Regions from separate parts of the Homo sapiens genome. Here region 1 is linked to region 2. Evidence: promoter capture Hi-C in 16 types of primary human blood cells and fetal thymus (Javierre and others, 2016). All regions are on one chromosome and are shown on one strand. The core of a region is centred on a gene start or on the middle of the fragment in contact, and the rest is flanking DNA. Distances in the headings are between cores, read along the strand shown. Region 1 overlaps PDK2 (pyruvate dehydrogenase kinase 2). Region 2 holds the start of COL1A1 (collagen type I alpha 1 chain).

Evidence for each region. The method cuts DNA at HindIII sites, captures the fragments that hold promoters and counts their contacts. A CHiCAGO score of 5 or more calls a contact.
Region 1: a fragment that was not itself captured here is called in contact with the fragment with the promoter of COL1A1 in region 2 in 3 of 17 cell types (M0 macrophages, M1 macrophages and M2 macrophages); the score reaches 7.7 in M0 macrophages.

What each region holds. Positions count from the first base shown.
Region 1 is chr17:50,108,399-50,115,752 of GRCh38, forward strand. It overlaps PDK2 (pyruvate dehydrogenase kinase 2), which reads left to right. Exons shown (of 11, transcript NM_002611.5): 8 at 1-19; 9 at 214-321; 10 at 889-1,002; 11 at 1,559-3,754. The coding sequence ends at 1,699. SAMD14 (sterile alpha motif domain containing 14) reads right to left here. Exons shown (of 10, transcript NM_001257359.2): 7 at 7,166-7,325; 8 at 5,789-5,908; 9 at 5,526-5,681; 10 at 1,642-4,650. The coding sequence ends at 4,495. Among named protein-coding and RNA genes, the nearest start is that of PDK2-AS1, 9.7 kb to the left of the region's middle. RefSeq lists enhancers at 1-68, 3,399-4,084, 4,085-4,770, 5,696-6,291. The HindIII fragment of the contact is 8,208 bases long and covers 1-6,746 here.
Region 2 is chr17:50,200,381-50,207,080 of GRCh38, forward strand. COL1A1 (collagen type I alpha 1 chain) reads right to left here and starts at 1,251. Exons shown (of 51, transcript NM_000088.4): 1 at 1,031-1,251. The coding sequence starts at 1,133. RefSeq lists a silencer at 466-515 and an enhancer at 5,344-5,845. The HindIII fragment of the contact is 2,253 bases long and covers 1-2,051 here.

The DNA.
Region 1 (7,354 bases), core at 1,393-3,892, 91 kb before region 2:
GGAAGATCTGTCCATCAAGGTATGTGACCCTTTGACCTTGGGGACCAGGGAGCAGTAGTGGGGGCTTCCCTCCTGCCAGGAGACGGGCTTTCCTTTTCTCCTACATGGTGGGCAGATCCTGGGGGTGGGGAAGACCATGAGAAGGTCAGGGGTATTGGGCGGGGTGGGGAAAATGAGCTGTAAAGAATCCCTGACACATCCCATCTCTCCCAGATGAGTGACCGAGGTGGGGGTGTTCCCTTGAGGAAGATTGAGCGACTCTTCAGCTACATGTACTCCACAGCACCCACCCCCCAGCCTGGCACCGGGGGAACGCCGCTGGTGAGATGGCTTCACCCCAGCCCCTCCCACCTCCTGAGGGAGGCTTCTCTCCTCACTCACTTCCTTATCTCCCTGCTCACTCAGCTTCTGTGTGGCCGTCTGTGACAGTCACCTGTCTTGAATCTGGGCCCCCGCACCTCCCACATCTCCCCAGTCTGCACAGATCTCACCTGTCGGATGTCTCTCTGTCACCTTTCCTCCATCTTCCCTCTCTTCTGTAGCTCCCAAACCCCCAATTTCTACCTTTCTCCTGGTGTTGTCCAACTTGTCAGCACCTCCCTGTTAGAAAACTTGAGACTCAAAGGAGCCGTGGGGCCTGCTCTGACTTCCTGGCCCCTGAGCGGAACTCCTCTCTCTGCCCAAGCCTCCCTCCCGCATTCATGATTGCCCCATTCACCCCACACACACTTCTTACCTCAGTGTCCCCTCCCACATGTCCCCTCCCAGCTCTGGGACCCCTGCCATGTGACCCCAGCTCCACACCCTTCCCTCCCTGCATCAGTCCCTGCAGCTCCAGGAGGCCCCTGCCAGCCTCCTCATCCTCACTGCCTTCCTGCCCCGCTGCAGGCTGGCTTTGGTTATGGGCTCCCCATTTCCCGCCTCTACGCCAAGTACTTCCAGGGAGACCTGCAGCTCTTCTCCATGGAAGGCTTTGGGACCGATGCTGTCATCTATCTCAAGGTGAGGGCCCTTCCCGCAGAGCCCAGCTGGAGAAGAGCTTTGCTGATAGGACCTGGGCAGCCTTGGCCAGCTGCGAGCTTTCCTTTCCATCCCCCCAGTCCTTCCCTGGCCCCAGACTCTGAGAATCCAAGCAAAGCTACAGTTCCTCAACCTGAAGAACCCTCAACCCCCAGACACGCACTGCTTGTCAGGGAATTTAGGGGAGTCTGTGGTCTATGATTAAGACCCCTGTGCTGGGAACCCTTGACTTGTTAGACCCAGAAGGAAGGGGACACCCTAGGTCTTGCCATTCAGTTCAGAGGAGAAGACTGAGGCCCGGAGTCCGTGACTTGCTCAGGGTCACACAGCCCAGCCTCCTCCCCCTCCCTCTCCCTCCCTTAGAGGGAGCTGCTTGCTTGAATGGGCAGGAGCGGGACACAGGAGGGACCACCCTTTTGTGGTCTTTCCAGGCCCCCGTGTCTGGCAGCTGGGCTGCCGCTGAGCTGGGGTGGGGTGGTCTGCTGAGGAGTGGACAAGGCACAGGGAGGTGGGAGGGGCTGACCCTGACACTCCCCAGGCCCTGTCCACGGACTCGGTGGAGCGCCTGCCTGTCTACAACAAGTCAGCCTGGCGCCACTACCAGACCATCCAGGAGGCCGGCGACTGGTGTGTGCCCAGCACGGAGCCCAAGAACACGTCCACGTACCGCGTCAGCTAAGGGCCGCCGTGCATCTGCACCTGAGAGGACGGACTGCCGCCTCTGGGTCCCCCCACCGTGGTGCCCCTCACCATCCTCCTGGGGGAGCAGGGGGTGGGTTCTCCCTGATGACCAGGTTCTGTCTCTATGGAAGTCACTGCGGTGATAGGTCTGTGATGGTCCCTAAGTGCCAGTCCATCTCTGTGGAGACCCCTCGGTGGCCTCCCTATCTCTGTGGGCGATGCCTGAGGGTTAGGGATGTCTCCACCCTGATGGGGTGTCCCAGAGACATTTTCCCATGGCAGTCCTCCTCTCTGAGACCAGGGCTGTCACTTTTCTGCCAGGGGTACTGGGTCCCCCTCAGCACCCTCCACAGCACAGGCCTTCCAAGTGGATGTCCCGTTGCCTTATTCCCCCAGCCCACAAAGGCACCCTGGCCTTGGCCTGCTGAAGTGTTAGGAAGAGGGTGGGTGCCCTCCAGACCTGGGGACTGAGTGGGGAAAGGAGTTACACCCGTGAGTGGGGAATGAGGCTGGTCCTGCAGCCTCTCCCTCCGCTCAGGGCTTGAAGGTCGGTGGCGGAGGGGGTGGCTCTCACAGGGCCCAACTCTAAAGTGGAAGAACCTTGTTAGACCGAGAGCTTGCCATCCAGCCAAGCTGCTCGAGGCCCTGCAGTGGCCTTGGCAATGTCTGTGCCACCTCCTGAGCCCTCCCAGCATGTCCTCACATGCTCATGCCCACCCGCTCCTCCACAAGCCTAGTCCATCCTGCCTGAGCTCCAGCCCCCAGCCCCCACTGTGCCCAGACATGTGTGCTCAGGGTGGCTTTCTCCCTAGGACCTTCTGTGTATATAGTTAGTTTTATAACCCTGAATGCCCCCACCCTTCCCCTAAGCACACAGGGGTTAAAGCTGTGTGTCCCTCCCAGTGGCTGTGGCAGTGACAGTGACACCCACACCCACAGTAAAGAGGAGACTGAATGAGACTGGCCTGGCTGCATCCCTGGGGGAGGGGACCCACACGTGCGCACGTACACACGCACACTGCGGTGCCCTGTGACCACCACATGACGCACCGGGGACGTCCGGCCCAGCTCAGGACTGTGAGTAAAACACTGGGCAAAGCCATCTGTTCAGAACGCCGGATGGCCCAGCACCTGGTGACAGACCTGTTGTCCCACCATACTCAGGGCCCAGCAGAGTCCGGCCAACCCAACAACTGGAGCAGACAGAAATTCTGGTCACTGGCACATCATAAGGATTTATTGAAATAAATTGAGAACTGCCTCCCCTTCACATGCAGGTGGGCACCCACTATAGCTACTGATGGCTTTAAGGATGTGGGTGCCTTCCAACCTCCCATGGCCCTGCCACCAGGCCCAGATGGTGCCAGTGTCCTCATATCTGTTTCCCTCCGAAGCCCCTCTCCCAGCACAGATAGCAGAGGGGGGATAAGGGCTGAGTCCCAGGTACAGGGTGCTGGCCGTAAGCCACAGCCCCTGGGCAGGAATGAGGGAGCCAGCATGCATTGGTGCCATCTGCCGCTCTGTCTGGGCAGATGGGAGGAGCTGGAGGGGTTTCCAAGCGGGAGCCCCCAGGCCTCATCGGTAACTCTGACCAGTGTCCTGGAAGCGGGACTAGCTGCTGACCAGCGCCACACATGAACACTTCCTCCAAGGACATTTCCTAAAAAGGACACATGCTGTCCCCAGGCTGCTGGTAAACTCCACCCCCATCCAGGGAGCTGGCCCCAGCCCTCAGTGTGGCCCAGGGAAGCAGAGCTTGCACCGCCTGCCAGTTCTGAGCCCACTGATTCCCTGACAATGCCTGGGGCAGATGGGGGAGGGCTGATGAACCTTTCCAATCTCGTAGCTGCCGGGGACCCCCAGGTTTTGCCTCTCTGCCTGGCTGGGGTGAGGGCTGACCAGGTCAGCAGCTCCTAGGCCTTGGCTGGTGGAAGTGGTGTCCTCTGTCCCTATCAGTTCCTGTTTGCTCAGCTCCCAAAGAGGACTTAGGTGCCCTCTGAGGAAGCAGCAGGAAGTGAAGGGAGTCCTGGCTTGGAGAATGGGTCAAAGACCAGGTCTTGAATGGGCCCTGAGAGGCAGACCTGTGTGGTGTCATCTCGCCCCCTGGGACCCACAGGACAGAGGAGGGGAGAGGGAGAAGGGGATGTTCATCCTCCCCTCTTGAGTCCTGGCAAAGACTGCACTCGCCCCAGGCTGCTTTCTCTGCGCTCCTGTTGAGGAGTTTGGCTGGGAGTCTACCCTGAGTGCGACTTGCTGCAGCGCCCACTGGCCTCTTGGGGGAGCAGGACAGAGCTCTCCCACCACACAGCCCCCTGGAAGAGTGGAGAGGAGCCGCTCCCACATGGGCTCCTGCTGAAATGCCCAGCCCAGCTCTGAGCCCTGGGGCCCGGCCTCAGGGCCTCTGGCAGGCAAGCAGGCAGGCAGGCCTCCTAGCTCCCCTCCACCCCAGCCCCACGATGGCCTGAGGGCAATGGGACAGCCTGACCCAGCCTCCCAGACTTGCCTCAGCCCTGGCCTCTCTGCCCTCTCCCCTTCATCTGCTCCTCCCCCAGGAACTCTGTGCCAAACAAGTCCTCAAAATAGGATTTATTACTAGGCCCTCTCCCTGGGGTCTCCCTTTCTGGGGTCTCTGGGTCTAGACCAAGTGACAGGGTAAGAGAGAGCATGTCCCCCCTGAGAGCGTGGGACCAGGCTAGCCCAAGTGCAGCGCCCAGGTCCAGCCTCCCTGGTGAGGCCTGTGCCCGCGGAGCCAGTGGCTGCCCCTGCCGGGTGCCAGCGCCTGTGCACCCTCCCCTAGCTCTTCTTGGCCTCCTGCTCTCGGCGCCGGAGCTTCTCCCGCTGCCGCGCAGCCTTCTCCTGGGCCTTGCGCTCCTTCTCGGCAGCTGCTGCCATCTCCTTCAACTTGCGCTTCACCAGTGCCCGGTCATGAGAGTTGCTGAGCCCCAGGCTCTGGGGAGGAGTCCGGGGTGAGGGAGAGAGTCCCAGAACCTTCCCAGTCCTGGCCTCCCACGCCCAGGCTCCTTTTGCCCCAGGTGTACTCTGTGGAGCTCCAAATCCTCCCTGGAGTGGAGCCTCCGCCTCCCACACCGTGACCTGCCCATGGATCAGAACCCCCAGAGCAAGAATTTGGAATGAGTGTGGTTGGGAAAGATGAGGGTTGGGGGTATTAGGCGCTTCCTCCTCCTCCCCCACCATTCCTCCACTCAGTATTTCAGCCTTGGCCCGGACCTGCCCAACCTCCTGAGGCCCAGAGATGGGGAGTCACTTGCCCAAGGTCACACAGTTAGTGCCCAAGGACCCTCCTCACTTCCAGAGACTTCCTGGGGGCTCTTTTCACCATCCCTGCCCCAAGCAACTCAGCAGAGAGCAGGAGACAGGCCAGGAACCTCCCAGCTTATAGGTCAGAGGCCACCACCCCCTTCCTACAGCCTCCCCCTGCCCACTATTACCACTAGCCTCTGAGACAGAATCAGACCAAGCTGACCAGGGGGAGATGTGGCTTCCCATGATACCAGGACACTCATATGCATCAAGGGTCATCCTAGAGGGCAAGGTCAGCCTGGAGACCAGGGCTGGAGCTTGAAGGTCACACTGAAGTCATGGACTAGAGTTTCAAGTCAAACTAGGGATTCATGCTACAACTCAAAAGATTAGACCAAGGACCTTGCCTAGAGGTCAGAGGTCAGGGTGGTGGCCACAGATGGAGTGAAAAGGTCAGCCCAGGAGGCTGGGCTGAGGGTCAAAGGTCAGGATGAGGGACTTCAAATCCTTGAAAGTCACCTCAAGTAACTGGGCTGGGTCATGGCCCTTCCACTCTGACCCACCTTTAGTTTGCTTCCGTCCAGCTGCAGCAGCTGCGGCCCGTCTACCTGCCGTGCAGCAAACTCAGCAGCATACTGTTCCAGGTTGAGGCTCTGCAGCCACTGGCCCACCTGCTGGCTGGTCCAGTGGTGGACAGGGGGGAGGGGTTCATCCAGGAACTGGGCAGAGACCAAGGAGAGTGAGGGGGAGGCTTGGCCTGTGACCTGAGCACCTTGCAGAGTCAGAGGTCAGGACTCCGTGGGCACCCTGGGCCAGCCTTGCTCACCTCATCTGAAGACTGAGACAGCGTGTGGTAGGGGTAAGAACATTTGGCCTCCTGCCAGGGCCCACTGGGGATCTTGGGGCTGCTGCTGGGGGGCGTGGAGTCATCACTCAGAGTGGATTCCTAGACAGAAAAAGGTGCATGCCACTGAGGAGAGTTCACCCCCAACCCACCATCCCTATCTGGGTGGAGCCGAAGTCCTGGACTAGGCACCAGGAGTTGCTCAGTGCCTCCTGTGCATGAGCCAGGAGCTGGGCCTGCACACAGGACATGATAACTCATGTCAGGCATCAGGACCTGAAGCCTTTGGGAGAGCAGGCAGCCATCTGGAGGACATGGGGCTAGAACCAAGCCAGGTTAGTAGGAATGGAGGCGGTCTCAGGCAAGGTGTCACTTCCTACAGGCAGACCACCGAGATTCCCCCAGGCTGGGTCAGGTGTCTCTGCTATGCGCCTCCCGCCTGGCCTTAGTACCCCAGCTAATAAGTGCCTGATTAGAGGTCTTTATCCTCACTGGACTGTGAGCTCTAGGAGGGCCTGGGTTGTATCTTGTTCATCATGGTGTCCCAGTGACCAGCATAAGGGAAGGAAGAAAGAGAAGGAGGAAAGAAGGAAGTTCCAGGTCCGAAGGGATTCTTTCTTCCCAGAATTCCCAGCTTCTGATTTTCTCCTCTGCCCAGCTGCACGTAAGAAACAGAACCGTAGAACAAGTACTGGGCTGGGGGTTGTAGAGCTTGGCACCTATATCTGTGCCAGTCTGTGGGCAAGCCCCTTCTCTCTGGGCCTTCCTTTGCTCATCTGTACAATGGAGATGAGCATGCCTTCCCTCCCTACTTCACCGAGCCTTTGTGAGAGTAAAGCAGAAACGCATTTGGGGCTTTGTAAACTGTAGAGGGCGCTCTGAACATAAGCAGTTGCTCATCATTGCTTCTCTTACTCGTCTCACATCACATAGGGTTGTAAGCTTTCAGACCACTAGGTTGGGGTCCTGTTTGTCTCTATATCCCCCAGGCCTCACCCTACCAAGCAGGTGGCCCAGCTCCTCACACAGGAGTGGGGTTAGAACTTAACCAGGCAGAAGAGTTAGCAGGAATGAAGGAAGTCTCCAGCTGGGTGAACAGTAGGGAATCAGTGTTTAGTGATTTGTTGAATGCATGAAGCATTGACTGAATCAAGGAATGAACTACTCAGAATATGAAGGAGTGGAAGAGTGAACGAATGAATTCAGAGAATGCATGAAGTAACGGATCACTGCATGGCTCCATGGATGGACAAATTGATTCCAGGAATGTCTGAATCCCAGCCTGAGCCAAGGTGAAGTACGCCCTCATGTCACCTGAGACTGGGGGCCAGTTTGGGGACAAGAAAGGCATGGACTTACCTGGGAAGCTGACTTCTTAGGGCTGAAGCCCTCGTGTTTAGGGGAGCAGGTGGGGGAGGTGGTGCTACCCGAGGATGCTGAGCCCTTGCCGCTGTCCGTGAACCAGGAAAAAGGCAGGAACGGGGAGCCCCCTGACCTGCCGGACCCCTCCACTGACTCCCTGCAGAGAGAGTGTCCAGCATGGGTGTG
Region 2 (6,700 bases), core at 1-2,500:
CCCGCCCCCATTCCCTGGGCAGGTGGGGTGGCGGGGGCGGGGCTAGGAGAATGGGAGCGGCTGATTGGAAGGGAGGCCCCCCCAAGACTTGAAATGTACCTCAAAATTAGGAGACACCCTAACCTCCAGCACCTAGACATCTTAAAAGCCCGCTCTCGGGGCCATCCCCAGTCCCCCAAAGCCAGCCAATGCCTCCAGGTCACTTTTAGCCAAAGAACCAAAAAGTCCGCAAATAGTCCAGAAGTTAGCTAACCACTCCCACCGCGCTAGCGGCTCCCCAGACGGCCACTAGGTGTCGGGCAACGCTAAGCAATGGGGCCGGGGCGGGGCCGACCTCACCGGCCCGACTACCTCTTTAAGAGGCTTGGGCTGCCCCATCCCTGGCTTTACTTTCCAGATCTAGAGGTGGGGGTCCGCACCCAGCAATAACCCGGGTCTTCCCGCTCCGGCTCCTGCCCCAGTAAGCGTTGGACCGGGAGACGCAGTGCTCAGCATCGGTCAGCAGGGGGCGCAAGGACCCCGCCCCGCCGAGTCCGCGCCAAAGTTTCTCATCCTCCACCCGCCCACGCTCCGCACCCCCTCCGCGGCTGCCCAGCACCCCCACGGCCCCAGCAACACTCTAGCCCGCAGAGAGGGCAATCTTTCCTTATGAATCATCCCACGGCCTTCCTGATTGCTTCTACATCTTGGGCTTCAAATGCCCCGCTCGGCGCCCCCATCCCATCTTCGACGTGCTTTCCTCACTCTGCACCCAGATCCCCACTTCCCCGGTTGCGCGCTCGGGATTCTCTCTTGCACCAACTCACGCCGCGCTCCACCCTCACCTCCCGCTCCCGGGGCGCGTTCAACCCCAACCTCGCCCCAGGGTGAGCTCCCTCCTGTCTCAGGGCGCCGAGGAAGAGCCCTCATCATCTCCCTTCCATTCCCGAGTCTCCGGATCATCCACGTCTCGTTTTAAGCCGCGGCCCCCGGGACCAAGCGCAAGGCGCGATATAGAGTATCCTTGCACTCCCAAAAGTTTGGGACTTACTGTCTTCGTCTTGGCCCTCGACTTGGCCTTCCTCTTGGCCGTGCGTCAGGAGGGCGGTGGCCGCTAAGAGGAGCAGGAGCCGGAGGTCCACAAAGCTGAACATGTCTAGACCCTAGACATGTAGACTCTTTGTGGCTGGGGAGGGGGTTAGCGTCCGCTCATGCGTGGCCTCACACTCCGCGTGCCTCCTGCTCCGACCCCGAGGAGAAACTCCCGTCTGCTCCGACGACTGGCCCGGGCCCCTTTTATACTGTCCTGATGGAGAGCAGGGAGGAACCCTGCCCCTCGGAGAGGGGGAGCCGGCCGCCCGTGCCCCAGCCAATCAGAGCTGCCTGGCCCGGCCCCCAATTTGGGAGTTGGAATGGAGAGGGGGAGGAGGAGGGAAGGGAGTCCACCCCACATCTCCCCTCTTCGCAGCTCTGCCTCCCCAGCCCCCCAGCCCAGCCTGGGCCAGAGGTGCTGTGGTAGGGGTGCAGCTGGGTCCTCAGAATGGCGTGGGCTAACCAGTGGGTAGGGGTGCCCCTCTGCTCTCTTCCTGGGACCTCCAATCTAGAAGAAGTGGAACTGGGGAACTGGGGAGCTGGGTGGGGAGACTTCCAAAGGTGGAAGGGTTGGGGGTGTTGGGGAGGGGGTCCTCCTGGCTGTGCCCCAGTCACCCTCTGATATCCTGGCAAGAGCTAAGGGAGGGGCATAAAGAGGCATGCTGAGGACCTCTCCAAAACAGAGGAAGCTGGGAATTAAAAAGATGTGCCTGTTTGGGGGTGTCTTCTGGTGTGGCTAGGGGATGGAGCTTAGGAATATTTGGGGAACAATTTACAGATTCCTTTCTAGACATTAAGAATCAGATATCTGAGGGAGGGGTGCAGGCAAGGGAGTTTTAATTTTGAGGATGTCAATTCTTCTGCTGTGCTCCAGAACAGAATCAAATGCCTTCCTCCAAACCCTAGGCATGATTGAGAGATGGAGTGGGGAGGCTGAGGTGCAGGGTGAGAAACATGACTAGGTGGCCTCTGCAGAAGAAAGCTTTGGTGGTTGGGTGATGGAGCAGCCAAGGTAGGGGTGGGGGATTCTAGGGACACAGAGGTGGGGATTGGGGCTTGCAATCCCCTAAAAATTCATCCCCCAAACTCTTCCACCCCAGAGTTGGGAAGTATTTTTAGTGGGAGGCCTGTGATCATTGGTGACTTAGAGAAGAGTTTTGTTTGCCATGGCTGTGGCCAGGGGCTGCTTAGAGACCCTCCTTCCCAGCACAGTCAAACCAGAGAGAACCTGGGTGGAGGGAGGGCACTTAGCTAAAGGGGTGTCTTTCTGGGAGCTGCATAAAGCCCCTTCTCCAGTTGTACCTGGACTCAGTGTTGGGGATGTATGGGATATTTTGGGTGTCTGGGTGAAACTTTCCTTTGGGGGTGTGGGATGGGCTGCAGAGGATGATTGACTTTGTTTTAGGGGCTACTTCCCACTGCCTCATCTCTTTCTTGAAAATCCCGGTCATTGCTCTATGCCTTAGGAACCAGAGAGAATCATCTGTACACTCTGAAAGGGTCTGGGGACCCGAAGGACAGCAGGCTATATCTAAGGAAGATGGCTCTAGAACTCCACGTCCTTTCTTCCTCCATGTCCCATTCCCCCAACAAGGCTCTGCCTCAACCCCAATCTACCTCGTCCTGAGAAACTCTGTAGGGCTGAGAGAAGGCCTGGGGGTCTCCTTGCAGTGCCCTGTTCATTTCTCTCCCTCCTGTGCAGCTCCCCACCCCGGGTGCTCCAGAGCTGCAAACGTGGAAGCGGGGAGTCCCGCCTCCCCCAAACCATCCAAGATTCCATTGCCTCCCCCCGCCCCTCTCCACGCCCTCCCCCAGCTGGTTTTGTGCAACGAAGGCAAAGGGGAAAAAAAAGGAACAGAAGGGGAGGGAGCCACGTCGGCTGGCCGGCTGGCCGTGGGCAGCCAGGATGAGCGGTGCGGGTGGGGCAGCAGAGGGAGACTGCAGGGGCTATAATTAAAGGGAAAATATAGAGTTTCCAGAGAGGCAGGGCTGGAGACAGCAATGGAGGGATGGACCTTCATCAATTATCCCGACCATGTGGCAGCAACTTGTGGCCCAGGGTCTGCCCCCGCCTAGTGCCAGCGACTGCAGGGCAGGACTAGGGGGCTGAGGTGCTGAGATGGCAGTTCTTGAACCCACCAAAGTCCTGCCCCCTACTGTGGGTCAGTTCCAAGAGAACCCCTCCCTAATAGGCGACAGGGGTCCTGTTTTTGGAGGGAACAGACATTTAGAGTGGTGGTCTAGGGCAGGGTGCCGCAGGGCTTGGTAGTATGAGGGTTAGTGACCTGTCCACTTCCTTGCTTCTTGGGTTTTCGTAGTAAGAAGGGCTCCTGCCTGCAGCTCCCCGCCCCTCCCCATATGTTTCCCATCCAGGCTTTCCCACGCCCATCTTAAAGAAGAGTTGAAACCTCCAAGGTGTGAATTGGGGGTTGCTACATCATGGGCCTGGGGTTCTGAAGGATATTTGGGGATCCCTGGCTTTGGAGTTTTGTGTGCCTGGCGTGTGACAGCCACCACCCCAATGTCCAGTTCCAGGCCTTCCTCCCAGGGGCCGAGGCAGACAGTTTCCAAGCATCCTTTACACGTGGCATGGAGCTGAGGCTCAAGGCCTCCCCTGCCACTCTTCGACTTAAAACGCTTGGCGGGTGCCCAGGCTGAAGATGTGTCTTTAATTTCTGCAGTATGACAGTGAGAGGAAGAATGTGCTTGGGGTCTCCTCCCAGCCTGGCTGGGCCTTCCTGGCCAGGATTGAGGGCTGCAGACTGGGGGGATGGGGGGTGGGAGGAGGAGGGAGCTTGTGCCTGTGAGAGGAGGAGACGCCACCTCATCTTTAGGAAACTCTGAAGCTCTGGCTTCTTGTGGAATGTAAGACTTTGTCCGGCACTTAAAGTGGGGGGGAGCAAAAGCCAAAATCTCCTCCCCACACCCCCAAGAAATGGTAAAGTCATCAGCAGTTAGGGAAAAAAAATTCCTTAAGAAGAAAAACAGAAAGAGGAAAGTGCTGAGCTTGAGTTCTCTCCTTCTCCAAATTTCCCCAAGTGCCCCCCTCCAACACCAAAGAAGGAGGGAAAAGGCCCCCACCCTCAGAGCTCCTCAGGTGCCCCATCTGGACTCCATGGTATGGGACAAAGGAGGAGAACACACCTGGAAGAGGTAGCCCAGGTGTTGTGCACCTGGTGGGGGGCATGCACCCCTGCCCTGCACATCGGGGTCACCCTTTCCAGCTGCTGCAGCCCCCAGTTGAGGTTCTGTTGCTCTTCCCCCAACTCCAATTCTCCAGAACGCTTCTCTGCTCCCACCTCTAGCCCTAGACTGATGATAAAGAGGGGGTTCCTAGGAGAGGGTCTGAGGAGACAGAAGGGCGGGGTCTAAGAGTGGGGGTGCAGTGAAGACCCCAGGATGAAGCTCTCCATGAGTCTCTATCATGGAGCCCTGCACAGTTCCTGTTGAGGGAGCCTGGAGCAGAGTCTGGGGATAGACCCCGGGTGTGTGCAGGCCCTTCTTCTTCCCTCGCTTTAGCATTGCACAGTCGGAGCCCTTTGCTAGGTTCCTCAGCTTCCAGGTACAGCTCTGCTCTTCTATGCCTTAGCCCCAAACCCAAGTCCTCCAGCCTCCTAGGATTTCCCTCTCTCCCTTCCTCCCTCCTTCCTTCCTTTCCAGGGTTAGGGGGAAGATGATGAAGTAGGTTTTGTCCATGCTGAGTGTTTGAAGCCTGTGAGACATCCAATTAGAAATACGGAGGAAACCCTTGGGCACTTGGGTCAGGAGTTCAGAGGAGAGACAAATGTGGGTCCCAGGATGATGGTAACTGAAGCTGGGGTTGTGGATGGTGTTGTCTCAGAGAAAGCATGGAGGGAGGGAGTGTGGAGGGGCTGGCACTGAGCCTCGGGGACCCTCAGGGTGTAAGGGCTGGGTGGAGGAGGAGGAGATAGGGCAAGAGTGGCCAGAGAAGGAGGGCTGGGTGAGAGGGATTGGGGGGTCATGAGTGCAGAGGAAAGAGATGGTACTAGAAGGAAGGAGAGTTATATGCTGCAGAGAGAACTAGTATGGTAAGGAGTAAAATGTTCCCTGGACTTAGCAGAATGGTGGTGACTGATCCCCGCAGCGTGAGCTGCTGTGGTGGAGAGATGGACAAGGAAGCCGGACTGGAGTGGGCTAAGGAGTGTGTGGGAGGCCAGGAAGCAAGGTCAGAGGGCAGCGACTGGGAGGAGGAGTCTGGCTGTGGCAGGAGTCTAGAGAGGCATCTGTCCCCTGCTCTTTCTCTTTCTTCCCAGCCCGGATCCTGCGTTCCTTTCAGGCCCCTGCATCCCTCCTCTGTCTTCCAAGTTTCTTCGCTGCTTTCTCCATCCCCCTCTGTCTCCAGAGCTCCTTTTCTGGATCTCATTTGCCTCTTTTGCTCTCCTTCCCCCTTTCCTTTTCTTTCCAGGTGACCCGAGCCCTCAAATGTCCATAGCCAGGCCCAGCCTCCCCCTCATTCTCCCCTAGAACAAGCCCTCATTCCAGGCTCTTGAAGATGAACTTTGTTTTCTAGTCCTGGACGGATCCCACCCCATTCTCTGACCGCTGCCTCCACCACCCCCACCCCAGTCCTAGGAGGAGAACTTGGGAGCTGGAGAGAGAAGGGCTGGGGGTATGGCCCCAGGTGACACGAGGTCTGTCATGGCCCCAGCTCCCAAGCCCTCTCCAGCCACCCCACCAGGTCCCAGCCAGGCCCCAGCTGAGAATAATGCACTGGATGGGGGATGTTGTTGAGTTAGGGGACCCCAGTTCTCACTGCTGCTCTCTGGTAGTCAGAAGTGAGGGGTCAGCCCCATCTTTCCTGCTGGAGTGAGCTCCCAGCTGGGTAGCTGGCAGCTTTTCTGTCATATCCCTCCCTGCTCCTGATGTCTGGAGGCAGTGTAGTTCTTCTTAAAAGTTGGCTTGGCAGGGCGCGGTGGCTCACACCTGTAATCCCAACATTTTGGGAGGCTGAGGCAGTCGGATCACCTGAGGTCGAGAGTTTGAGACCCCAGCCTAGCCAACATGGTGAAACTCCATCTCTACTAAAAATACAAAAATTAGCCCGGCATGGCGGCATGGGCCTGTAGTACCAGCTACTTGGGAGGCTGAGGCAGGAGAATCACTTGAACCCAGGAGGCGGGGGTTGCAGTGAACCGAGATCACACCATTGCACTCCAGCCTGGGCAAAAAAGCGAAACTCTCTCTCTCAAAAAAAAAAAAAGAAAGAAAGAAAGAAAGAGAAAAGAAAAAAAAAAGAGAAAGTTGGCCCCATGAATTGATTGAATATTTACACCTTTCTGGGTTGGTTCAATTCCGTGCCTATTTTATCCCATTTGCTTTTCTCCATTCCTTTCTTCCTTTCTTTCTTCTATTCATTTACCTTTTCTCTCCCCCACCCCCAACCTCTCTCCCTTCAAATTTTTCTCTTCATGCGTTTTTCTTCCTTTTCTTAGTTTTTTTTTTCCTTTCCTTTTCTTTCCTCGGTCTCTGACCCGTTGTCCCACCTCTCCACCCACATACTTTTTTCCCCCTCCCTCTTTTCCTCTCTTATTCTCTTCCGGTATCTCCTCTTCCCCAGTCCCCGGTTCTCTGGTGCCCATCCTGGGGTATGGCGCTCTGCCGGGTCTCC